Regions from separate parts of the Homo sapiens genome. Here all the other regions are linked to region 7. The links are contacts of gene promoters, found by promoter capture Hi-C in blood cells and fetal thymus (Javierre and others, 2016). All regions are on one chromosome and are shown on one strand. Each heading gives the region's core, a stretch centred on a gene start or on the middle of the fragment in contact. The rest is flanking DNA. Distances are from core to core; before and after follow the strand shown. Region 1 overlaps DOP1A (DOP1 leucine zipper like protein A). Region 2 overlaps UBE3D (ubiquitin protein ligase E3D). Region 3 overlaps UBE3D (ubiquitin protein ligase E3D). Region 4 overlaps UBE3D (ubiquitin protein ligase E3D). Region 5 overlaps UBE3D (ubiquitin protein ligase E3D). Region 6 overlaps DOP1A (DOP1 leucine zipper like protein A). Region 7 holds the start of IBTK (inhibitor of Bruton tyrosine kinase).

What was found. Contacts are between HindIII fragments. The CHiCAGO score rates a contact against its expected background, and 5 or more counts as called.
Region 1: a fragment that was not itself captured here is called in contact with the fragment with the promoter of IBTK in region 7 in 14 of 17 cell types (total CD8 T cells, monocytes, fetal thymus and 11 more); the score reaches 20.1 in total CD8 T cells.
Region 2: a fragment that was not itself captured here is called in contact with the fragment with the promoter of IBTK in region 7 in 11 of 17 cell types (total CD4 T cells, activated CD4 T cells, M2 macrophages and 8 more); the score reaches 11.8 in total CD4 T cells.
Region 3: a contact is called between a fragment that was not itself captured here and the fragment with the promoter of IBTK in region 7, in 16 of 17 cell types (M2 macrophages, non-activated CD4 T cells, total CD4 T cells and 13 more). The highest score is 58.9, in M2 macrophages.
Region 4: a contact is called between a fragment that was not itself captured here and the fragment with the promoter of IBTK in region 7, in 4 of 17 cell types (non-activated CD4 T cells, total CD8 T cells, total CD4 T cells and 1 more). The highest score is 9.4, in non-activated CD4 T cells.
Region 5: a fragment that was not itself captured here is called in contact with the fragment with the promoter of IBTK in region 7 in 16 of 17 cell types (M1 macrophages, endothelial precursors, megakaryocytes and 13 more); the score reaches 15.4 in M1 macrophages.
Region 6: a contact is called between a fragment that was not itself captured here and the fragment with the promoter of IBTK in region 7, in 12 of 17 cell types (total CD8 T cells, M2 macrophages, monocytes and 9 more). The highest score is 13.8, in total CD8 T cells.

The regions. Positions count from the first base shown.
Region 1 is chr6:83,078,347-83,081,797 of GRCh38, reverse strand. The region is part of intron 1 of DOP1A (DOP1 leucine zipper like protein A); the gene reads right to left. Among named protein-coding and RNA genes, the nearest start is that of DOP1A, 12 kb to the right of the region's middle. The HindIII fragment of the contact is 3,746 bases long and covers 91-3,451 here.
Region 2 is chr6:83,019,934-83,023,432 of GRCh38, reverse strand. It overlaps UBE3D (ubiquitin protein ligase E3D), which reads left to right. Exons shown (of 10, transcript NM_198920.3): 7 at 872-980. Among named protein-coding and RNA genes, the nearest start is that of UBE3D, 44 kb to the left of the region's middle. The HindIII fragment of the contact is 5,372 bases long and covers 1-3,499 here.
Region 3 is chr6:83,061,519-83,064,993 of GRCh38, reverse strand. The region is part of intron 1 of UBE3D (ubiquitin protein ligase E3D); the gene reads left to right. Among named protein-coding and RNA genes, the nearest start is that of UBE3D, 2.6 kb to the left of the region's middle. The HindIII fragment of the contact is 3,859 bases long and covers 1-3,356 here.
Region 4 is chr6:82,997,511-83,001,240 of GRCh38, reverse strand. All of the region lies in intron 8 of UBE3D (ubiquitin protein ligase E3D), which reads left to right. Among named protein-coding and RNA genes, the nearest start is that of UBE3D, 66 kb to the left of the region's middle. RefSeq lists a silencer at 1-189. The HindIII fragment of the contact is 1,891 bases long and covers 669-2,559 here.
Region 5 is chr6:83,037,434-83,040,859 of GRCh38, reverse strand. UBE3D (ubiquitin protein ligase E3D) reads left to right here. Exons shown (of 10, transcript NM_198920.3): 5 at 2,375-2,444. Among named protein-coding and RNA genes, the nearest start is that of UBE3D, 27 kb to the left of the region's middle. RefSeq lists an enhancer at 1,728-2,927. The HindIII fragment of the contact is 459 bases long and covers 1,333-1,791 here.
Region 6 is chr6:83,097,912-83,101,612 of GRCh38, reverse strand. DOP1A (DOP1 leucine zipper like protein A) reads right to left here. Exons shown (of 39, transcript NM_015018.4): 4 at 727-908. Among named protein-coding and RNA genes, the nearest start is that of DOP1A, 32 kb to the right of the region's middle. The HindIII fragment of the contact is 323 bases long and covers 1,975-2,297 here.
Region 7 is chr6:82,245,176-82,248,993 of GRCh38, reverse strand. IBTK (inhibitor of Bruton tyrosine kinase) reads left to right here and starts at 1,250. Exons shown (of 29, transcript NM_015525.4): 1 at 1,250-1,432. RefSeq lists a silencer at 1,448-1,617. The HindIII fragment of the contact is 2,262 bases long and covers 94-2,355 here.

The sequences.
Region 1 (3,451 bases), core at 714-3,213, 830 kb before region 7:
TCAGATGTATGGTGTGCAGATATTTTCTCCCATCCTGTAAGTAGGTTGTCTCTTTACTCTGCTAATTGTTTCCTTTGCTGTGCAGAAGCTTTTTAATTTCATATAACCCCATTTGTCTATTTTTGCTTTTGTTGCCTGTGCTTTTAAGATCATAGATACAAAATCATGGTGCAGATCAATGTCACATAGCTTTTCTTGTTTCTCCTAGTAGTTTCATAGTTTCAGGTCCTATTTTTTTTTATAACCCAAGATGATTTTTGTATATGGTGAGAGATAAGGGTCTAATTTTGTTCTGCAGTTTATCCAGTTTTCCCAACACGATTTACTGAAGAGAATGTCCTTGCCCCACTGTGTATTACTGTTGCCTTTGTCAAAAACCAGTTGGTTGTAGGGCTGGGCATGGTGGCTCACACCTGTAAACCCAGCACTTTGGGAGGTTGAGGTGGGTGGATCACTTGAGCCAGAAGTTGGAGACCAGCCTGGCCAACATGGTGAAACCTTGTCTCTATTAAAAATACAAAAATTAGCCGGGCATGGTGGTGCATGCCTGTAATCCCAGCTACTCAGGAGGATCGCTTGAACCTGGAGGCAGAGGCCACAGTGAGGTGAGATCACACCACTGCACCCCAGCCCGGGCAACAGAGTGAGACTCTGTCTCAAAAAACAAACGAACAAACCAACAGTTGTTTGTAAATGTGTGGAATTATTTCTGGGCTCTCTATTCTGTTCCATTAGTCAGTCTGTCTGTTCTTATGCCAGTTCCATGTTATTTTGGTTACAATAGCTTTGTAGTATATTATGAAGTCAGGTAGTAGAACACCTCCAGCTTTGTTTTTTTGCTCAAGATGGCTTTGGTTATTTGGGGTCTTTTGTGGTTCCACAAAATTTTAGGATTTTCTTTTTTCTATTTCTGTGAAGAATGTCATTGGTCTTTTGATAGGAATTGTATTGAATCTGTAGATTGTTTTGGGTGACACAGACATTATAAAACAGGGATTTTAATTCAATAAATGGCCGTGGTGAACCTATATACAAGGGGAACTATATACAGAACATAAAAGACAACAATCTATTCCTCCCTAGAAAATAATTCCTAAGAGGTAAAAATGCTCTGAAGTGGGATGAAATACTACAGAGGTACTGCAGGTTGGGTTACACATCCAAAAACAGTATTACAGATGTGGCTGTCCCCAAATTTAGGATGTGCAGGGCTGATGACAGGATTCTTGCTGGATTAGCAGTATGCTTTAGTGCACAAATTCTATTATTAAGCACCTAAGGGATGCTTTATAGGACCTACTAAAGACAGGTTTTTTCTCTTGGCAAAGGGAGATATAATTCCTGAGGGTTATTAGTTATGAGGGGACAAAATGATAGTTCAGAAAACAAATATATCAAGGAAGTTTTCCTTATTTTGATGAAACCTGTGAACATCACTGATAGTTTAATATTCTGGTTTAGTCATATATCATTGTATTAACAGTATCTATAGAAAGAAGTAGTTGTGTGGATAATGTAAAACAGAATCCCAAACAACTAAATTTTGCTTTTAGGATATATCTGCTTTTTTCAAACATATCTTTCTAATGTTTTGTTTTTCCTAACATTAAAATGTTTGATTTCACTGTGTATACATTGATTGGGTAGGGGGAAATGAAACAAACATTTTAGATGGCAGGGGAAAAAAAATCAGCCTAAGAGTAAATATCAGAATAGTACACTTAAAGAACATCTAAATTATCTAGATTGACCACATTCTGTTTTGCTTTTATTAATAGTTTGGAAGAAGAAAGAAAACATGGCTTATTTTTTATATACAGCAGAAGGTAAGACATGAGAATAATGATAAAAATGAATGCATTGCTATTCAGAATGATTAGAGAGGTGAAACGCAAGATGAGGAATAACTAACTGTTAACTATCCCACCATGTATTTCTTTCCAGCTTATTTGAAACATAAATTTTCATCAGAAAGTACCTTTCTCAAAGTATCTTTATTTGTAGCTATCATTCTTCATTTAATGACAATGATTTTGCTTAAACTTTTACATATGCTAAAACATACTACTAGAAATAAAGTGAAATAAGCAAAAATAATTTTTACAGCATAATTAAACCCATATTAAGTTAATCAAATCATTATTTGCAAAATAAAATCTAACCAATATATTTAAAAATTAGTAATTTAACGTTTTCAGCATTTAAAAAATAAATAGTATGCTATTAACTTACTACAGAGTTGGATTTTCAAATAAAGACTGGTTTTTACATAAGTTAACATAACAATGCCGTACTATACATACTAGCCAAACATTTTTCTATACTTCCTAGTGTGTTCCAATTTAACTGAATATCTGTAAACAAATTTTAATCACAGCCAGTAGAAACAAATTTTTCCCATTAAAAAAAATCCCATGGAATTTTAACGTTTTTCTTTGCCCATTTTATTAAGACTGTTCCAAAAGTAAAATCATAAGAAAAAGCACACATGCAAAAAAATTCACTGAGATGCAAATTCAATCATGCCTATGTATTTAAAAGATAAGATCAAAATATTACACAGGAAGTCACCAACACTTTAGCTGAGTACTTTTATTTAAAGATGCTTTTTTAAAAAAGGGTTCACCCTGGACACAGACCATGCATGTATCTGTGCACATCAGTTTCCAAAATCTGTGAAAGAATGGTGACAGAAAGTAGCCTTGCACAAGGGTTAACTCCCTTGATGGACAAAGTAAACTAGAATTAATGTTGAGGATATCAAGATACTTTACAGAGAAAAATGGGGTACAGCCTACAGCAGACCTTCCCCCAGCTCCTACAACCCTTCAATGTCCATCCCCTCTCATGTTTTAAGGTTAAGATGGTAACAAAACAACAATATTAATAATGCTCATCATGAAAGAACAAAATAACTTTGCTGAGGTGTTAATTCTGTAAGAGAGAATTAACTCTAGATATTTTTGCAGATTCTGAAGCACGTAATAGAATAAGAACCAAAATAAGGTATTGCTTAATTATTGTAAAAAATCTCTACAAAACATAGGCACCCTCCAAAATACTGATAAACCATAAACTGTTACTACACCTCTCCTCACTTTCCATTTCACAGTACCTCTGTTGTCAGAATATCACTCCAAGAAATGCTGTAAAGTCTGTCAAGCACTGCTATTATTTTCTGAATTTCCTTGTTTTCCTTCATTACTGTCAACAGCACCATCATCTTCCTAATTACACAAGTTTGTACTTGTGCGATTTCATTTGGAGCAGTTTAATAAAGTCTACAAATGTGCATTTTTCAGAATGGTCTTTAATTCATGCCTATTTTATACCTGGACTATGTCAACAACCTATTTTCACTACCTTCACCTTCTCCAAGAGCCAATTAATTTTACACAGGAAAAAGCAGGTGGAGCATGTTCCCTGCTGGAAGCTCAGAAAAGTACATTTG
Region 2 (3,499 bases), core at 638-3,137, 770 kb before region 7:
AAGCCTTTTTGATAGTTGAACCAAACCACACATATAAAAGTTTTGAGGATTTTAAAAAATGTTTTGATCATATAGTGCTGTAGACAAATGTGCTCTTATAAATCTTCTAATTCTGAAAGTTTTCTATGCTTATTTCTATGTGCCAGATATCTAGAATCTTATCACCCAGTCACCAATAAGTTTTTTGAATAATTTCTGGTTTTAATTTGAATTATTTAAAATTTGAAACATGGGTCAGTTTCAAATGACTCCTATGTTTTAAAAACATGGTACTTAGTCACTAAATCTATTAGTGTTTTTATTTCTTTGACTCTTTAGTTTGCAAACAAGTTAACCATGATATGTCTTTATTCCAGTTTATTTGTTGATATCCAAAAATTATAGCAATCTTTGAGTATAGCCTTGAACTTATCCTTATGTAAATACTTTGATTCTGTACCTCAGAGCTGACACTTTAGGGAGATCCAAATGGAAGAAAATGTAGACAATACTGTCTGATGTTTGGAAGGAAATTTCTTGCCTTCTTTTGTAAGTTAGTTATTCTCTGTTTAATATGCTACAGCACAAATGGAGTATTGACTTGTTCTAACATGGTATTTTTTTATTCAGTAGGGGTGAATAGTTAGGTTTGGTGTGGAAAGTGTATCAAGGATTGGAGAATAGGTTTTAAGAAGAATGGAGCAAACCTGAATACATTAAAATATATTAAAATCCACATCAGTGCAGATTCTGAGGGAATGAGCAGTCCGTAGAAAAGTCTGGCATGTGGATATGTCTGCCTTTTAGGTACCGTGTGTGTATTTTTTGCTTATCTTGCCAGTTAGAGTTATTATGAGATACACATTGTAAAAATTGATTTCTGTTCAAACAGGTCTTGGTTTGTCCAGAGCGTGATCGCCCAGTGTCTGGTGCAGCTCTCCTCTGCTAGAAGCACTTTTAGATTCACGATTCAAGGTCAGGATGACAAAGTGTATATCTTGGTAAGAAATTATTTTATCCAGCTTTTTGTAGCCTAGGAATCCAAGGTCTCAGAATTCTTCAGTTTTTTCATCCTTTTTTCTTAATTCTCAGGTGTGGAAAATAAGTGATTAAAAATGTTAATATCAGGCTGGGCACGGTGGCTTATGCCTGAAATCCCAGCACTTTGGGAGGCCAAGGTGGGTGGATCACTTGAGGTCAGGAGTTCGAGACCAGCCTGGCCAACATGGGGAAACCCCATCTCTACTAAAAATACAAAAATTAGCCTGACATGGTGGCCCATGCCTGTAGTCTCAGCTACTCAGGAAGCTGTGGCAGGAGAATCGCTTGAACTCAGGAGGTGGAGGTTGCATTGAGCCAAGATGGTGCCGCTGCACTCAAGCCTGGGTGACAGAGCAAGACTCCATCTTAAAAAAAAAAAAGTTAATATCAGTTTAATTCATAAATCAAACTCCTTTATTTTAATAACAGATGATCAAGTGCCTCTATGTACTAGGTACTACGGATACAGAGAAAAATCCTGATTCCTGCTATTTAGAAGCTCATACCACAAAATCAGGGTTTTTTTGTTTTTTGTTTTTTTTTTGAGATGGAGTATCACTCTGTCGCTCAGACTGGAGTGCAGTGGCGTGATCTCAGCTCACTGCAAGCTCAGCCTCCTGGGTTCATGCCATTCTTCTGCCCCAGTCTCCCGAGTAGGTGGGACTACAGGCGCCCGCCACCACGCCCGGCTAATTTTTTTGTATTTTTTTAGTAGAGACGGGGTTTCACCATGTTAGCCAGGATGGTCTCGATCTCCTGACCTCGTGATCCACCCACCTCGGCCTCCCAAAATGCTGGGATTACAGGCATGAGCCACCACGCCCAGCCAAAATCAAGTTTTTTACTCTCAGTTTGTAATGGCTTTTTTGGGGTCACTATAACACTATTCTGTCCCACTTTTTTTTTTTTCCTATTTAGTACTCTTATGTTTAGAATATGTCCTATTGCTCCTGTTTGTTTTTTGTTTTTTTGAGACAAGGTCTTACTCTATCACACAGGCTGGAGTGCAATGGCATGATTATGACTTAACCATAGCCTCGACTTCCCAGGCTAAAGTGATCCTCCCACCTCAGCCTTCTGAATAGCTGAGACTCCAGGCCTACTCCACCATTCCCAGACAATTTTTAAATTTTTTGTGAAGACGAGGTCTTGCTATGTTGCCCAGGTTGGTCTCAAACTCCTGGGCTGAAGTAATCCTCCCACTTTGGCCTCCCAAACTGTTGGGATTATAGTGGGATTACAGGCATGAGCCACCATGCCTGGCCTTCTTCTGTTGTTTTTAATTGCCTCTGATTCTGTGATATTTGAGAAACAGTGGCAATTTTTGAGGAAGAGGCTCTGTGGCTAGCAATCATCCCAGCATGTACCACTAGAGCCTAATATTACACTACCTCTGAAAAACAGTGTCCTGCAGAAGCAAATTTTGAGCATTTATCTGGATAGTCAAGAATCATAGCCCAAGTATCTTCTCTGCTTCTACATCTATTTTATTCAACCAGTAAACAGGTATGGAGCACTTCTTATATGAAAGACACTGTTCCAGGTGCTCAAGGTAGAACACAAATGCCTTCATGAGACTAAAAAGCTAATAGGGAAACATAGTAACAAAAAGGAGGGAAGGGCCTGAAGTTGCTGTTAGGTGTGACTCTGTAGCTGGCCATCCATTATGGGGACACTATGCTTTTCTAATTGCAGATAATTTCCATGAAAACCTAAAATATTTTCTGACTGATTTTGATAGTAAATATACCTCACAGTTTTCTGAAATCAGTTTTACTTTTTCTTTTATTGTAAGATTTCAGATTGAAGATCGGGAGTAGGAACTTCTGAAACTTTCTAACATATATTTAGATTTTTCTTTTTTATAAAAGTAAAACATTCTTGAAACACAATCAGGGAACATGAAGAACATAAAGTGTTCCCTTTCCTGCCTTGCTATATCATACTATTCAGGGAGCAATCAGTATTAACAGTCTGATATGTGTACTTCATTATTTTTATTCTTTCCATATACAACTATATATATGTACACTCACAGGTGTTTGTCTATTTGTAAAAAAAAAAAAAAAAACAGTATCACATGATTAGCGTTTTTCTGCAACCTGCTTGCTTCACAGTATGTATCATGAGGATTGTTTTTATTAGTTTAAATATAGGTCTGGCTCTTTAATGACTGGAATTTTGCTGTATGGCTGATAAGACTGAACTGCAATGAAAATAATCTTTGCCTGTGTCTTTTAGTACTTCTTTAGAAATGGATCTTTCTAATGTAATATAAGAATTTGTATATTTGAAACTCAGATAATTATCACCTTGCAAAAAAGTTGTACTAATTTATCTTTTATAGTGGGCATTCTTGGTGTGCCACCCAGACCCCATACTGGGTTGATGCACCCATTCCCAGCTGCTGACAGCGTTGGCTGATAATGGCTCACAGCTGCCCGCTTCTCCACAGACTTCCTCTTTAGATGACAGGTGT
Region 3 (3,475 bases), core at 178-2,677, 820 kb before region 7:
CAGCAGTTTTAATGATTTGTGGTCCCCTTGTCTATTCCTTTGTGATCGCTGTTTCAAAGAGAGTAAGTTAGAAGTTAAAATCCTGAGAATGGTATTACACGGTGCCACAGGTAGATTGATGCTTAATTTTTTCCTCTTCCCTAAATCTGCCAGATATCTGGTGTGGCAATTTGGAATATGGCGTGAGAACTGAGTTCAAATGCTAGCTTCCTCACGAAATTAGAATAATTTAATCTGAATTTCTTCAATCTTGAAATGGGAATAATAGTACTCTGAATGTATTTCTTTTTCTCTTTCAAAATTTATGAATTTGGACAAATATCTCCAATTCTGGTGCACCTTGTAGAGTAATTAGGAACCCAAACCCTACCAAAATAAAACAAAAACCACACACACACAACAAACCCTCCCTTCCTCTCATGCAGGGGCCTTTCACAGTTCCCTTGGACTACTCTCCTTTGTTTAGGCAAGGTACCCGGGTGGCTCATGCCTGTAATCCCAGCACATTGGGAGGCTGAGGCGGGCGGATCACGAGGTCAAGAGATCAAGACCATCCTGGCCAACATGGTGAAACCCTGTCTCTACTAAAAATACAAAAATTAGCTGGGTGTGGTGGCGCGCACCTTTAGTCAGTCCCAGCTACTCAGGAGGCTGAGGCAGGAGAATGGAGTGAACCCGGGAGGCGGAGGTTGCAGTGAGCTGAGATCGCGCCACTGCAGTTCAGCCTGGCAACAGAAAGAGACTCCGTCTCAAAAAATAAAAAATAAAAAGAAAAAAAAAGAAACCTAACTTTGCTGGACTTAGTTTTGCCATTTCTTGAACTACTTATAAATGGATTCATACAATATATACTTTTTTGTTTCTGGCTGCATTCCTTCCATAATATTTTTCAGATTCACGTTCCATCTATGTGGCTGCATATATCAGTAGTCCATTCCTTTTTCTTGCTAAGTTTTCCATTGTATGAATATACCACAATTCATTTATCTGTTCTCCTATTGCTGGATGTTTTTCTTGTTTCTGGAGTTTGCTTATTATGAATACAGCTGTCATAACACTGTTGTATAAATCTTTTTTTGGACATACATTTTCATTTCTTTTTAGGTAAGTACCTAAGAGTGAAATTTCTGGGTCATAGGATAGATGTGCATGTTACTTTGTGAGAAATTGCCAAACAGTTCTCCAAAGTGATTGTACCAGTTTGCACGTTCAACCAGAAAAAAAATGAGTTTCAACTACTTTACATTTTGACTTACATTTAGTATTATCAGTCCTTTTAGTTTGAACCATTCTAGTGTGTGTAAAATAGTATCTTGTGGTTTTAATTTTCATTTTACCGATGACTAATAATGTTGAGTGCCTTTTCACTTGCTTTTTAGCAATTCATATATGTTCTTTTTAAAAGTATCTTCTAATTTTTTTTGCCCATAATCAGATTATTTGTCTTGTTTAATTGAGAGTTCTTTATACTGTCTCAAAACAAGAGCTTTCTCACATAAATGCCTTGTGAATATATGACTATTCTTATCTGTGACTTAACTTTTCATTTTCTTTTCTTTTTTTTTTTTTTTTTTTTTTTTTAGACAGCGTCTTGCTCTACTGCCCAGGCTACAGTGCAGTGGTGTGATCATGGCTCACTGCAGCCTCAACCTCCTGGGCTCAAGCAATCCTCCCACCTCAGCCTCTGGAGTAGCTGGGATACAAGTTGCATGCCACCATGCCCAGCTAATTTTTGTATTTTTTTGTAGAGATAGGGTTTCACCATATTGCCCATGCTGGTCTTGAACTCCTGGACTCAAGCGATCCACCCACTTTGGACTCCCAAAGTGCTGGGATTACAGGTATGAGCCACCATGCCCTGCCTCGTTTTTTTGATAGTGTCCTTTGATGAACAGAAATTTTAATTTTAATGAAGTCCACTCTATCGTTTTTTTATTCCTTAAGGGTTAGTTTTTTTGGTGTCTTAAATCTTTGCCTACCTTAAGGCTGTGAAGATGTTTTGGCAGGTTTATTTTCTAGGAGTTATATCGTTTTAGCTTTCACATTTTGATCTGTGATCATGTTGAATTCATTTTTGTGTTTGCAGTGAAGTAGGGATCAAAGTTCTTTTTTTGGTATAAGGATATTCATTTATTCTATCACCATCAGTTGAAAAGGCCATCATTTCTCCCATTAAAATAACTCAGTCTTCATGAGAAATCAGTTGACTATACTGTTTGCATAGTGTGTCCTTTCTACCTTTTTAACCTTTCTTATGTCTTTCTGTATAAAGCAAAAAGCTGTAAAAATACTGTATTTCCCTAAAAATAGCATAAAACTGTATGCTAGTTTTAAAAATATATAGTTGGGTGATTTTAAATCTGTTCTGATGATCTGTGTGTTCTAATTAAAATGTTTAGTATATTTTATAGTTAATTTAAATATTGGTGTTCTTGTTCCTAACTGCTATGGTTTGGATGTGTTTTGTCCCTATGTTTTCTCACTTTGATCCCCAATGTGGCAGTGTTGAGACATAGGGCCTAGTGGGAGGTGCGTGGTTCCTGAGGGCAGATTCTTCTTGAATAGATTAATGCCCTCCCATGGAGATGGTTGGGTGAGTTCTCTCTCAGGAATGGATTAATTCCTGCCATAGTGGGTTGTGAAAAAGAGTCTGGCTTCCAAAGTTTACATTCACAGATGTAAAGATCTATTTATATTAAGATATCTTAGCATTTTGGGATAAACTTTGGCCATTCATTTATTCAATCCACAGATGTTTATTGTGTTCTTACTCTAGTGCCAAAAATTCAAATTCTAAGTGCTGAGAATACAGCCATGAACAGTAACAACAGCAAAGACAAAAACACCTGCCTTTGTTGAGCATAGGGTTTAATGGTGGCAGTAGAGAAGAGGCGGCAGAGAATATACAAAATAAATATATATTTGATAGAAGTGGAGAAAAAAATTAAACAAAAAAGGAATGGGGAGAAAAAAGTTACAATCTTTTATTTCAAATGAGAAACTAACATTTGAGTATTAAACTGTAACTGGTGAGGTGTAGAACTGCCATACCTGGTGGGAGACAATTTCCCTTTGAGAGAAAGTGAGTATGAAAGGGTGCCTAGTTCAGAGAGATGCGGGTGAGTTGGGGGAACACATAGTAAAAGATCTTATGGCAGTGTGCTGGTACATGTTTAATAACCTACTCTCCATGAAAATAAACAAAAAGACAAACTAAGGTCTTGATTTGAAGCATTTGTTGATTTCTTTGGTGTGAATACTTTCACCACGTATGACCTTCAGCCTACCAACTGGGTGAGGTGAGTTGACCTGCTTTGCAGAACTCCTAGAATTTTAACAACAGGTTCTCCAAAGCTTGTAGCAGCAGGGCCTGCTATACCACTGTGCCTTATGGACCATCGAAAGGACTTTAGCTTGTAGTTAGAGTGAGAGATGAAGTCATTGGATAGTTTTAAGCAGTTGTGATACCTGACAG
Region 4 (3,730 bases), core at 365-2,864, 750 kb before region 7:
GATCAGTGCTATGATGAAGAGATAAATGGTGCTATGAGAACAAATCAGAGAGAGACCAACTGGGTCAGGATAGGAGTCCATGAAGAACTGATGCTTGGGCCGGGCTCAGTGGCTCACGCCTGTAATTCCAGCACTTTGGGAAGCCAACGCTGGCAGATCACCTGAGGTAGGGAGTTCGAGACCAGCCTGACCAACATGGAGAAACCCCATCTCTACTAAAAATGCAAGATTAGCCAGGTGTGGTGGCACATGCCTGTAATTCTAGCTACTCAGGAGGCTGAGGCAGGAGAAACACTTGAACCCAGGAGGCGGAGGTTGCGGTAAGCCGAGAGCGCCCCATTGCACTTCAGTCTGGGCAACAAGAGCGAGACTCCGTCTCAAAAAAAAAAAAAAAAGAATTGATGCTTGACTGCTGCCTGAAGGAGGAGAAGGAGTTTACTGTGAAGAGCTTCTAGGCAAGGGGTGGGAGGCAGTACAGTGAGTACAAGGGATGGGAAGGTCAGGGTGGCTGTAATAGAGAGAGAGAGAAACAGGCATAGAGTAGGGAAGAGACAGACCAACTCAGGGACCCAAAGGGACTTGAAAGAATTTAGTCTTTATCCTAAGAACAATAAGAACCGATTGAACATTTTATCCAGAGAGAAGCAAGAGGTGGTTTAATTTAAGCTTCAGGAAGATTGTTCTGGCAACCATCTAGAGAATAGTTGGATTTGGGTAGATCAGATAGGAAGCTATTGCAGTAGCCTAAGAGAAATTATTTTAGTTTGGACCTGGGTGATGGTAGCTGCAATAGATTTGAGAGATACTTAGTAAGTAAAATTGCATACTTGATGATTGATTGGATTTGAGGAATGGGCCACTATATACTGGGATAGATAATATTGGAAGAAGATAAAGTTTTGGGAGAAGATAATTGGTTCACTTTTATACATGTTGAGTTTGAGGTGCATTTGAGTTGTTCAAGAGAGAATAGCAAATAGAATGTTAATATATAGACCTGGGGTTCAAATAAAAGGTTGGGGCTGGATTTGTAAATTTGTGAGTCATCTGCATATTGGTTGTAATTGAAGCCAATGGCATGGGTAAGATTATTTAGGAAGAAAGAATGGAAGACAGAGCAGTGAAGAACTCCCACATTTATAGGCTAATTGAAGGAGGGTGAGTCTGGAAAGGAGATAGAGGAGTGGTGAGACAGGAGGAAAACAACAGTATTGCTTTTTAGAGGCTAAGGGAGGAAACTGCTTTAAGAAGGAGAAAGTAGTCAAACGCTGCTGAGAGAGAGGTCAGGTAAGATGTTGAATGTAAAACATGCATTGGATGTAGATTACAAAGGTTATTAGTGACTTTTACAGGAATTATCTTGGGTGCCTGGGATGAGAGCTGGGGTGGAATGGGTGAGCAGTGAATGAGAGGTGATATGACAAACAGTAAGTGTGGACCACTGTTTCAGGAAGTTTGGCTGTGAACGGCAGAACAGAGAGGAAGGGGATGGGAAGCTGACTTAAGGTAGGCAGGTGGGGTTAGACTGACTTGAGTCCATTTAAAAGCCAACAGGGGGCTGGGTGCAGTGGCTCATGCCTATAATCCCAGCACTTTGGGAGGCTGAGGTGGGTGGATCACTTGAGGTCAGGAGTTCAAGACCAGCCTGGCCAACATGGTGAAACCCCGTCTCTACTAAAAATCCAAAAATTAGCTGGGTGTGGTGGTGTGCACCTATAGTCCCAGCTACTTGGGAGGCTAAGACAGGAGAACCACTTGAACCCAAGAGGCAGAGGTTGCCATGAGCCTAGATCGCGCCACTGCACTCCAGCCTGGATGACAGAGTGAGCCTGTCTCAAAAAATATAAAAGCCAACAGGGAAGGTCCTGTTGAGAAGAGGTTGATTACACATGAGAAAGAAGGTATGACTGATGAGGCAGGATTCCAGGACAAGATGGAAAGGTCTGGTATCTCAAGCTCTGGTGGACCGACCAGCCTCAGGAGCAGGATAGCTCTCCTTTTGTAACAGGACAGAAGGAGATCAGTATTGGAGTGGCTGGAAAAGATTTGCATATAGGTTTTGAGAAGATGAAATACTTGTCCTCTGATGGCTTCTGTTTTATCTGTAAGATAGGAGTAAAGAGGGAGGAGGCACAAGAGGGAGAAGGGATAACGGTAGTGGACGGTTGCAGATTTGAGGAGAATGGAGAAGATTTAAAATGGTCATTTGGAAAGGAGATGAGTGAGATGACCAGAAATGTGTGGACTTGGTAGGCATAGTTCATTGCCCATTTGAGGTTCATGATCACAAATTCATAGTGATATTAACCTTTCTTATGCTGTGACATTTTCCAGCTTATCATCTACTAAGCACAAGCACAGAGAAAGCGGACAGTTGAGTTCATCAGGGTTAAAGTTTGGTTGTCCCCATGCAAAGAGTACTGTGTAACTCTTGTATTAAGTATTATTATAGTGATGGACTGTAGAATCTGTGTGGCCTGTTTTAATGACTTAAGAGTTGGAAAGAGGCTATAGTTTTTAATCACTTACTGAAACTTAGATCTGGTAGAAGAGAAAGCTTTTAATTATATATTTGAAGCTTCTTAAAAAATTTTTTTAAGTACCAAAGATTATTGATGGGAAATGATCCCCTTAAAATATATTAAGAAAAACTCTAATCCCTTAATGGAGTTTTAGCACTTATTCAGACACATGCCCTGAGTTAAATTTCCTTCCAGATTTTCCATATGATTTTTGTAATCCCATTTTGTAAGGAAATGTATTGGCCTAATGTGAGATGATAAGTATAAAGAAAAAGGTGCGTAATCTTTAGTGTCTGCCAGAATTTTAATTTGACATTTATTATGTAAAGGAACTGCAGTGTTCCTGTGGTTCTGCTTTTATTTTAGACATTAAGGTTGAAAAATGATCTTTGGATCCTAAAGTCAGCTGGAGTAGAGGGAAGAAGTCAGTTTCTTTCATTATCACTTGGGGACTTTTTATCCAGATGGCTGTAAGAGCCTTCCAGGTGCATGTACCTCTATTGCAAAGCAAAATAAACGGAACATTTAATTATTGGAGTTCCCACTGTTAAGTCTAGCTGCTGCTGTAACATCCATTGTGGGAGGAAGTGCTTGTCCCAGGTACCTATGCAAGGCTTCAGGCCAAAGGCCTCTAGCAATAGCACTGTCCTCCATGGGACACCCTCTGCCTCACTGCACAATATCAACTGCCAGAACCTTACTCTTGTCATTTTCTCTCCATGTCAGAAAAAATTCCCGTACTTAAAAAAAAATCAATCATTCCTAATTCCCCAGGTAAATGGTGAAGGCATTCTCCTTGTAAAATAATTTCAAATCACAGGGTCAAGTTCAAATCCGTGGACTACCATTTCTAATTTCACTCCCGTCTGTATAACCACTGTAACCAGGTTGCTGTGTATGTTTCCAGACCTTTACCTACGCATATACATATATTTATATATGCCCCTGGAAGTATATACAAAAACTATTGTGTTTTCCTTTTTCTTTTCTTTTCTTTTTTAAGACAGAGTCTTGCTGTGTCGCCCAGGCTGGAATGCAGTGGCACCATCTCGGCTCACTGCAAGCCCCGCCTCCTGGGTTCACACCATTCTCCTGCCTCAGCCTCCCAAGTAGCTGGGACTACAGGCACCCGCCACCATGCCTGGCTAATTTTTTGTATTTTTAGTAGAGACGGGGTTTCACCATGTTAGCCAGGCCGGTCTCGATCT
Region 5 (3,426 bases), core at 313-2,812, 790 kb before region 7:
ATCCAGTTTCCCACCTGGGTCAGGCTCTGAGACCTGCCATTTGTGATGTGCCTGATAAGGATGTCAGTGCAATGGCCAGAGATGGCACACTGTGGGGCCCACTTTGGGAGTGTGCCTGGATAAAAGTTTGAGCCAGGACTGAACTGACTTATGAAGTTCATGTGTGCTTTTGTTTCCTCAGCAGAGACTTTTGAGGAAGGCTGCAGAATCTGTCCAAATACTGCAGCTAGACCAGGAAAAAATGGAATAAGTGTTTATGTTACTGAAGGTTAATTCAGTGTATGAAGGGATTCATCTCAGAAGTTTTTAAATAGAAGAGCTGTAGGCATTTACGGATTTTTTTACTAGTTGCATGTGTTTGAGGCTGGGGGAAAGAATAGGCCATAGAGAAAGACCCCAGTATGAATTGTGCTGTTGCTCTTGACTTTGACCCCTGATTGAATATATATATATATAGAGAGAGAGAGAGAGAGAGAGAGAGTCAGTCTCGCTCTGTTGCCCAGGCTGGAGTGCAGTGGTACAATCTCGGCTCACTGCAACCTTCCCCTCCCGGGTTCCTGTGATTCTCCTGCCTCAGCCTCCTGAGTAGCTGGGACTACAAGCGCGCACCACGACGCCCAGCTAATTTTTATATTTTTAGTAGAGACAGGGGTTTCACCATGTTGGTCAGGCTGGTCTCAAACTCCTGACCTCATGATCCGGCTGCCTTGGCCTCCAAAAGTGCTGGGATTACAGGTGTGAGCCATGGTGCCCAGCATTGAATATATTTTTTTACATCAAGATCTGATAACACACATACACTCATGCACACATACACAAACACACCTCAAATAAAAGTTTCTTGAAGCAGTACTTACTCAGTGTTTGAAGCACTGTCATATTTTCTGTTCTATTGTATTTCATTTTTTAAAAACACAGTAGGCCTGGTGTGGTGGCTCACGCCTATAGTCCCAGCACTTAGGGAGGCCAAGGTGGGTGGATCACGAGGTCAGGAGTTCAAGACCAGCCTGGCCAAGATGGTGAAACCATCTCTACTATAACTACAAAAATTAGCCGGGCATGGTGGCAGGTGCCTGTAATCCCAGCTACTAGGGAGGCTGAGGCAGAGAATTGCTTAAACCCGGGAGGCGGAGGTTGCAGTGAGCCAAGGTCGCGCCACTGCACTCCAGCCTGGGCAATGGAGCAAGACTCCATCTCAAAACAAAACAAAATAAAACAAAACAAAAAAAAACAAAACACAGTAATCCACTGAATTGGTTCCATGAATTGGTTCCCACTAATGGGGCACATGAGCTGTTGTTTGGAAAACACTTAGCATAGTGTTCAGAAGCTTTAGCATCAGAGAGACCCAGATTCAGACATCAGCTCTGTCTGAATCTAGCAGCACTTCCATGGAACTCAGTTTAAATGTACTTTTTATTCAATTTTTCAGGAAATTATTTATGCCAAAGAAAAAATACTTAAATGTATATTAATCAGTTAAAATTTTTTTCCTTAGATTAAATACACATATTATCCCACATCAGAAGTCACTGCCCTTCTTTACTTCAGCCTACACCTATTCTGTGGTTTCCCAGGAAAGGTACCCTGGAGTATCCAGAGTTGTAGAACCTCCTTTTCCCTGCCCACTGTATATGGCTTCTGCCTTGTTACAGTATATCTGGACGAGAGGAATGTATGGTTTTAACAAAGGTATAACTATGGATGGGAAAAGGCATATTCTTTATTGATTAGGCAAATGCTAGCTATTTTAATCTGTATCTCAAATAGCGAATTTGGATTTTTGAAGCTTAGGTTTGTTTCAGGAATTGTCCCAGAGCACTGCCTGTCTTTCCAGTTACAGTGCCGATCCTAAGTGGAAAAAATGGAAGTATATGAACAGACTAGATATTTTTAACTTTTCATTTATTGTAGTTAAGGGTTATGGGTTACTTTTACATAAATTACACTGGACTAGGAGTCAAAATAGTGTGAGTTCAAGTTCTGATTCTTCTGTGTTCTATACACATGAGTTGGGGCAAGTCATCAACCCTGTCTTTGTTGCCCACCATCTGCCTGTTTTAAGTTATAAGGCTATTTGGAAGTGCTTTTTAGAAATATAAGGTACTACTTATTCAAATTATTTGGCAACTTTTGGACTATCAAGAAGTGGCTGGTTTTGGAAAAGTGAATCTGTGTGTTACTGTTTCTTAAGACTTGAAAAATTTTCTCTGTGCATGTGAATTATGCATACAAGCTAAATGTATTCCCAGTATTTAGTAGAGGGCAGAATAAAATGTAAAGTTCAATGTATACTCTGGGGACTATGTTAAAATTATATATTCCTTTTAAGAAAAGCTGAATGACATTTAAATGACATTTTTCTGTTCTACAGGAACCAAAGGCAAATACCAAAGTAATTTGTAAGCGTTGCAAGGTAATGTTGGGAGAGACCGTGTCATCAGGTAAGAATTTCATAACAAGAAGCCAAAATGATTGGCTTCTTGCTTAAAAGCCAGAATGATATTTTATAGTAAATATATAGGAAAGATAGATGATTAATATATGTTGTGGAATTGGTGCTTTTCAAAATAGACCCCAAGTAACATACCATCCAATATACCAAGAAGTTTGTATATTTTGACCTTCATAAATACAGAGTATTGAATTTTAAGTATTAAGAAGTTGAGTCATTTTCAGAGTTTCATAGCCTCTTTGTAGATATAAAGCAATAGTATAAAGTTTGTTCTTGGGCCTATTTCAAGAAAATTGGAGCTTTTTTCTCTCTTTGTTTCCTTCTTTCTTCTTCTTCTTTTTTTTTTTTTTTTAATTTTACCTTCCTGGTAACTCACGAAACAGAGCTTTTTTCTTAATACACCTCCTCAGTTAGAAGAATTGGTGCCCAGAGATGGAGAAGTTGTTTTTCTTGGCTGCCATCTGGCTCGGGGCTGTATTTTGGGGCTGGGGATGGGAGAGGACCTGTTGAAATGGAAGAAAAAAAATTCCGAATTTTGTACTTTGTCCCTTATTCTTTTGGTTCCCCAGTAGCATTGATTATATTTTATGTAAACTCTGTTATACTACTTTAAAATATAATAATGAAAATCCTGATAATTAAAATGCATTGCTGTTTAAAGATATGGTTTATAGTGTCTAGAGAACTACAACATGCTGTGTTAGCTTTGGATGATGAATAATTACTTTTAATACAGTTAATTAGAAGATGTGATTTACATGAAGCAATTGTACTTAAGGGAAGGCAGATGATGGTATTTTTTGTTTATTTGTTTGTTTAATCGTCAAAATCTTGTAAGAAGTTACTTGTTCACAGTGAGCCAGAAAGGAAAAATGAGTTAGTAAAAGGTACCATCCTTAACGTCATTTTTGGAAAATGAAAGCAAGCCTCTGAAGCAACACCTTAGAAAAAGTTAAGCCTTCTGGTTAAAT
Region 6 (3,701 bases), core at 887-3,386, 850 kb before region 7:
AAGGAGACTGAGAAAGAGTAACTGAACAGGAAAATGTGGTACAATGAAAGCCAAAGGAAAAGACTGTTTTAAGTGGAGAAGAGTCAACCATGTTGAAAGTTGCTGAGAGATCAAGGTATCCTATTTTTTTCTCAGGCCAGTTTTCAAGCTTAAAAAGGTAGAATGTACTATAGTCTCAACAACTTTGAATGAAAACTTTTAATAAATGATATCTAAGAATAAAAAACAAAAAGACATTAAAGACTGTTCTACATTTTTCTGAATCACTTAACTCAAATATTTAAGATTGATATCTGAGGCCAGGCGCGGTGGCTTATGCCTGTAATCCCAGCACTTTGGGAGGCAGAGGCAGGCGGATCATGAGGTCAGGAGATCGAGACCATCCTGGCTAACACGGTGAAACCCCGTCTCTACTAAAAATACAAAAAAATTAGTCGGGCGTGGTGGCGGGCGCCTGTAGTCCCAGCTGCTGGGGAGGCTGAGGCAGGAGAATGGCGTGAACCCGGGAGGCAGAGCTTGCAGTGAGCCAAGATTGGGCCACTGCACTCCAGCCTGGGTGACAGAGCAAGACTCCGTCTCAAACAAAACAAAACAAAGATTGATATCTGAAAACTTCTAATCACTAAGGAGTTTTCAATTTTTAGTTTTTAGTGCAGAAAGTATAAAATAGTTTAGCAATACATTTTCTTTATATTATTTGTATATATATAGTAAAATTATTCTTACCTATATAAAAAAAGATCTTTGGCAAGTCGCTTAGGTCCAATTATTTTGAAGATAATTTCATATGTTTCAAGCGCCTTCCGATGAACTCCACCTGGTAATGCTGGATGTAGACATTGAGCTAGGCGTTTGCCTATGGTCAGCTTTTTGGGTACTACTTGGTACTTTGCATTATTTTGTAAAACCTTGAAGAAAGCATTTTAATGTAGTTGAGAAAAACAAAATATTGCATTCATTTTACTTCCATTTTCTAGCATAGTATTATAAAAAATGATCATTGTAGGTCTTTGTGTTTTGTTAGCTACATTTGCCTATATATACCATATTTAAAATTAAAACTGAGGAAATGTTACAAACTTTATTAATTTGTTTAAAAAATAAACTCGTTACCTGTTAACAGAATAACATTTTTAATGAAAAATGATATTTTCCAAAACAAATTTATGGAGAAGAGAGGTATTTTAGATTTTTTTTGGTAAATTTTTAATATTTGATGTGAGAAGACAGCTGGAATGTTACATGAACATGTAACATGGAAAGTTACAGCCTTCAATCCATTTTTGCTACTTTGAAATAAAGTCTGGCCTCAAAGTAGATATTTACAGTACTTGGAAGAGGTACAACCATTGTCCTAGTATATCAAATTACAGCAAGTAATTCTAATGCTTATAAGAAAATCTACATGAGATTATCATTGCCCATTTGTTTTTATAAACTGATTTTTCTAACTGGACAAAACAACTTTTTGTTTTATTTATTCAACCATAACATTTCCTTAGAAATAATGGTCAGGGCAGAATTTCTGTACAGAGACCCTATCTTACCAACCACTCAAAGGAGATTAGTTAAGTAAAGAAGATCTTATAATAAATGTAATCCTTTAGTTTGAACCTAGAAGTCAGTATTATAATCAAGTATTGATAGAATGTCACAAAGTGAAGACTCAGAATGAATACAGACTATGTTAGAACTGGAATTTAGAAGAAATATGCAAAGTCTTATTTTACAGAATAAACTGAGGTTGAAATAATAGGTTAGTGCAAAAGTAATTGTGTTTTTTTGCCATAATATATGAAATGACCATCAAAGGCGGTATGAGTATATATATGTAATAGAGCATATATATATGTGTATGTGTATATATATGTATACGTGTGTATATATATATATATATGTATATACACACACACACACACACACACACACACATATGCAATCCTTGCCTTGTTCTATCACAATTTTGGCTAAGCTTCATAAACAACTTGGGTATTCTTCTTTGAGTTATCTAGATACCATGAAATCTACTTTTGTGAATATTGGTTAATCTAAAAAACTAATTATGTACCTAATTAGGCAAATTAATTTCCATCATTTAATGACTTGCCTTTAAAAAGAGTTCCCAGTATATCTTCAGAAACAGACTCTTCAAAACTCTTTAGGAAAAAAAAGAACCTAACTACCTTTAAGCAAACTTGTACTTTTAGATGGAATTTCTTGTGGATGTTGTAAAGGAATAAAGAATTATTCAAACTTCAAAAGATAAATGTTAGAAGTTCTAACATCAAAGAGAAGCTTCTGAATCAAATTTTAAGACAAATCCTTGACATACTGAAAATGGTAACTTTTCTTTTTATGGTATCAAAGTGATTATCTGTCGTATCAGGTTGAAAACTAGTGTCCTGGTGTGGTATTGTGAGTGAGAGTGTGTCTGTAGGTTTTCATCCATGGTTCCTGGCTCATAACTCCCACAGCCCTTATTATAATATGGGGAACTTTGGGCCTCAGAAGCAGGCCTCAGAAAACAATTTCTCTCTGACTTTTCCTGCCCTCTTCTCATCTCCTTTTTCTCCCTAAGGCAGGAATCTTCCCCTGTCTCGGAGCTGGCCGTAACAAAATTCTCTGGACTACTTGGTCTCATTGTAGGTCAAAGACCCCTATTTCAGAAGGGGTCCTGCCCCATACCCAGAAGGAAGGAATGCTGTAGAGAGGCCAAGAAAAATCTGACAGACGGGCCTTGCTGGGTTCCCCCACTTAGTCTGTTAGTATTACATCATATCTTTTCTTTCCTATCACATTTCTACACAGCTGTCCATGCTTCAATCATGCCTATCCAATGAAGTCTCAAAAGGCCCAAAAGGATGATTAGAGAGTGTCCAGGCCAGCTGAACACATGCGGAGGTTCCTGGAGGGTGGCACTCCTGAGGAGGGCATGAAAGTTCTACGTCCCTTCACCCATACCTCACACTATGCATCTCTTCACTTGTATCCTTTGTAATGTCCTTTATAATGAACCAGTACCCTAAGCTCTGTGAGCCGCTCTAGCAAATTAAAGCTAAAGAAAGGATTGTGGAACTTTATAGCCAGTTGATCAGAAGCACAGGTAAAACAAACTAGGGCTTGTGATTGGCATCAAAACAGGAGGACAGTCTTATGAGGCTCAGCCCTCAACCTGTGGGATCTGATACTATCTCCAGGTAGATAGTGTCCAAATTGAACTGCAGCACATCCAGCTGGTATCTACTGTAGAACTGCTTGCTTGCTGGTAAGGGAGAAATAACCACTTGTTTTAGGGTTATAGAAATCTTCTGCATTGATTGTCGTGGTGAGAGCAGAGGAAAAACTATCTGTGTTTTCTTCCCCCACACATCTTAGTATGTATTTTAAGACAAACTTCTTTCCTAATTTGTATGTTAAGCTATTTGATAGGCTGGGTATAGTGGCTAATGCCTGTAATCCCAGCACTTTGGGAGGCTGAGGTGGGAGGATCATTTGAGGCCAAGAGTTCAAGACCACCCTGGTCAACATAGCGAGATCCTATCTCTAAAAAAATAACTAGCCAGACATGGTGGCATGCCTGCAGTCCCACCTACTCAGAAGGCTGAGGTGGGAGGATCCCTTGAGCCCAGGAGTCTGCAATGAGCTATAATCATGCCACTGGACTCCAGCCTGGGTGAAAGAGTAAGACCTTGTCTCATATA
Region 7 (3,818 bases), core at 1-2,500:
GTCTCGATCTCCTGACCTCGTGATCCGCCCGCCTCGGCCTCCCACATTGCTGGGATTACAGGCGTGAGCCACCGCGCCCGGCCAACTTAAGCTTATTTTCAAAACCACTCAATTTTGACATTACAAACTGGTTTTTGTTTTGTAGAAGGACATTAAGAATAAAGAGCAAAGAAACAATTATGTGCTGGGAAGGGCAGTAGGAGGGCTGGGTCCTAGTCTCCCTTTCTCTTTCGCTAAGCAGCTGTGTGGCTTTGGGCTAGTAACCTACCCTCCCACAAAAAAGGCTTCAAAAGAGAGCAAGCAGAGCTCAGTGGGCATTAAGACATGCGCAACTCCTTTCTTTTAGAGATTAGATGAGGTCGACTCAGTGGCTTGTAAAACTCAACGTGGCAGAGCTGTACAGCCAACTCATGATTCTTAGTGTCGTTTGTTTTGAGTCACACTACACCTCCTTGAACAATCATTTACTGAGTGCTTACCGTATTAGGCATTCAGCAGCAGTGTGTTTCCCATTCAGTAACCTAGTATTGATTATTGGCTACTGTCCCTCCTAGCATTTTTCACTTGACCACTTTCTAAATGGCCTTTAGATTCAGAGTTCAAGTGGAAAAAGCCTAGTGTAAGCCTGGTGTCAGGCAGTGAGTGGCGTGACCCGGGTCGGCAGCTAGTCCTACGGTGGTGATCTAAGAGGGCAGTGACGCCTTCTGACCAAGGGAGTGACTGCCAGATAATCCGGGTGTATGGAGATCCAGAGAGGGGTGAGGCTGGGTTTACGGAGACTACACCTTTGGCTTTGCAGTAACCCCACTGCTAAGGCCATGGGAGGAAACTCTTCTGTGCAGGACGCCTATGCACTTGGCTTCTGCTGCGTAGCGACCGGGTGTCCAAGGCATCCTGCCAGGTCTCCTTCTCCACTCGGGTTTAGCCTCCCCCGCGAGTCTCCAGCTACCTAGAGAGACGTTTCTAACTACGAGATGGCTGGCCTGAAAGGGACACTCCCATCACCGTTGTTGGCCTAGAGTTCCCCGCTGCGGCCTTTTTCTTTTCCCCGCCCCTGGCCTGAGTCAGCGGCCCCAAGGCCGGCGAGGTCAAGTTCCTTTGGGGCGCCAGGGAAAAGGCCATGGCAGAGGTGCTGCCACGCGAAACCTTCTGGGCAGGCACCAGCCAATCATCAAGAGACATACAGGAGCCCCAGCCAACCAGCGCCCGCCTTATTACTGGGAACCGCCCGCTCGGGCCCTTCCTCTACATCCCCGTTCCCGATTCCTGTAGTAGCGGCTGTATTGCAGCCGCCTGCCGAACTGACCCGGGTCTGGGGACTGGCCCCTCTGGCGCCGTTCGGTTTCTCTTATTGCCTTCACTGAGGATGAGTCCCTTTGTGGCTCTATGTGGACCCTGCGGAATCCACCGGCGCAGTTTCATCTAGCGACTGGTGAGGGAGGGCTTGGCGCTGCCCGACCGTGCGGTGCGGCTTCCCTTCAGCCCGGGGGCAGGGGGAGAGTATTCGCCTTCTGGAGGGTGCGGGTGGCTGCGGACGGCGGCGCGGGGGGACCGTGGGGAGGGGACTCTGTGGCCCCGAGGCTGCCGGGCTTCGCGCGAGGCGGCGCGGAGAGGGCCGAGTGGCCAGGGTCCCTACCGCCCCCCTCAGCTAATGAATGGCCTGTCCCGGCGATGCGCTACGCTCCCGTCCTGCTGGACACGCCCTCCAGCGACATTGCATTCCTAGTTGTGATAGTTATGTAGTGTCACTTTCCTTCGAGTCTTGGATTTGAAGCCATTCCTGTGGGCGCTCATGTTCCTTATCCCCTTCCTGGAGTCACAAGTTTGAGTCCACCCTGGGGATACTGACTCTGGGGAAGCAGGTCGTGAAATCTGATAAGTGGACATTGATTGCTATGTAAAAAGGAACTGATTCTTTTTGGAGGGTGGAGGGTTGAGAGAGACAGAGAAGACAGGCCCTTTGTTTTTGTAACAGGCAGAGCTGTCTGGCTCAAAGAGTTTTAGTTCAGCTGCGAATTAGGTAACATAGGCCGTCCTTGACTCCTGTTTTCCAACGTAGTTCATAAAACTTGACTGTGTTAGCCAGAGATTCATGTAGCACCTTTTAACTTATGCCTCGAAGTAGGCCATTTGAAATTTATCAGAAATACTGAAAGGATATGACTTTTATGAGTAGTAGTGTTTCAGTGCCCATAAAGTGGTGTAAATTCACAGGCTTGCCAGCCCCCTCTTGATCATTTCTCTTTTTGTATTTTGAATTCCTTAACTTTTATTTGTTTTAGAAATTGAGGCAAGGTAGATGAGGACAAAACTGGTTTCTAAAAATAATTACATTTGCAAATATTTGCAGAAGCTTTAGTCAAACCAGAGTTTACTTCAAGAAATTTTTTAGGCCGGGCGCGGTGGCTCACGCCTGTAATCCCAGCTACTGGGGAGGCTGAGAATTGCTTGAACCCGGGAGGTGGAGGTTGCAGTGAGCCGAGATCGCGCCGCTGCACTCCATCCTGGGCGACTGAGTGTGGCACCATCTCAAAAAAAAAAAAAAAAAAAAAGATGCCTGTAATCCCAGCAGTCTGGGAGGCCAAGGTGGGCGGATCACTTGAGGTCAGGAGTTCGAGGCCAACTTGGTGAAACCCCGTCTCTACCAAAAATACAAAAAAATCAGCCAGGCATGGTGATGTGTGCCTGTAATCCCAGCTACTCGGGAGGCTGAGGCAGAATCGCTTGAGTCTCCAGCTGCCCTACCAAACTGCTTTTGAATTCAATTATTTTGAATTGAATTCCATGGTACTTTTTTCTACTACACTATACTACTTGCATTGAAATTTTTCTAACTGCCTTTTGGGAGAGCAGTTTGGTAGCATAGAATAGGTGGGATCAAGAGCACTTTTCTGTCGGTATTATTTTAGGTAGGCTTTTTAAACTTTCACATGAATCTCCTCATCAGAAAATGAAAGTGATCATATTTACAGGGGCAATAATAAGGATTATATTTATGTAGAGCACTGTGTATAATGTATAAAACAAAATTTCACCTATAATTTTTGTGTGTTTTTTCCGTTGTTTAATTTTGTTTTGCTTTACTCACTTCCAAAGTATTGACCCCTTACTCTTCTTTCTAGTTTCCCTATCTGTTCTCCAAGCCAGAAACCTGGGAATTACCACCACATCTTGTCAATTCAAGATCCTAAGTATGTCTTTGGATTGCCTGCCCTTTTTTTTTTAAATCTCTAAGAAAAGGCACATAAGGCTGTTCAAAATCCTGTCTATCCTTGTGTGTATGTTAGGCCTCACTTCTTTCTGTCTTCTGAATTATTTAGAAATTTTGGAATGGACCAAGATGATTCTAGTTCTTTTATATTTACTATCCCTTCTGCTTCAAATGTGCTCTCACCCAGAATTTATCAGGCCAACACATATGGTACTCTTTTTTTTTTTAGAAGGAGTCTCGCTCAGTCGCTCAGGCTGGAGTGCAGTTGCATGATCTTGGCTCTCTGCAGCCTTGACTGACCAGTTTTAAGTGATCCTCCCACCTCAGCCTCCAGAGTAGTTGGGACTACAGGGATGTGCCACTACGCCTAATTTTTGTATTTTTTTTTGTAGCGATGGCTTTCACCATGTTGCCCAGGCTGATTTCAAAGTCCTGGGCTCAAGTGATTTGCCTGCCTCAGCCTAACAAAGTGTTGGGACTACAGGCATGAGCCACTGTGCCTGGCCAGTACTCATCTTTTAAGTCTTAGTTTATACATAGTTTATCTCCTGTAGAAAGTCTTACCTGGACCCCTCTTCTGCACTCCCCGTTCCTATGTGTCACTTGT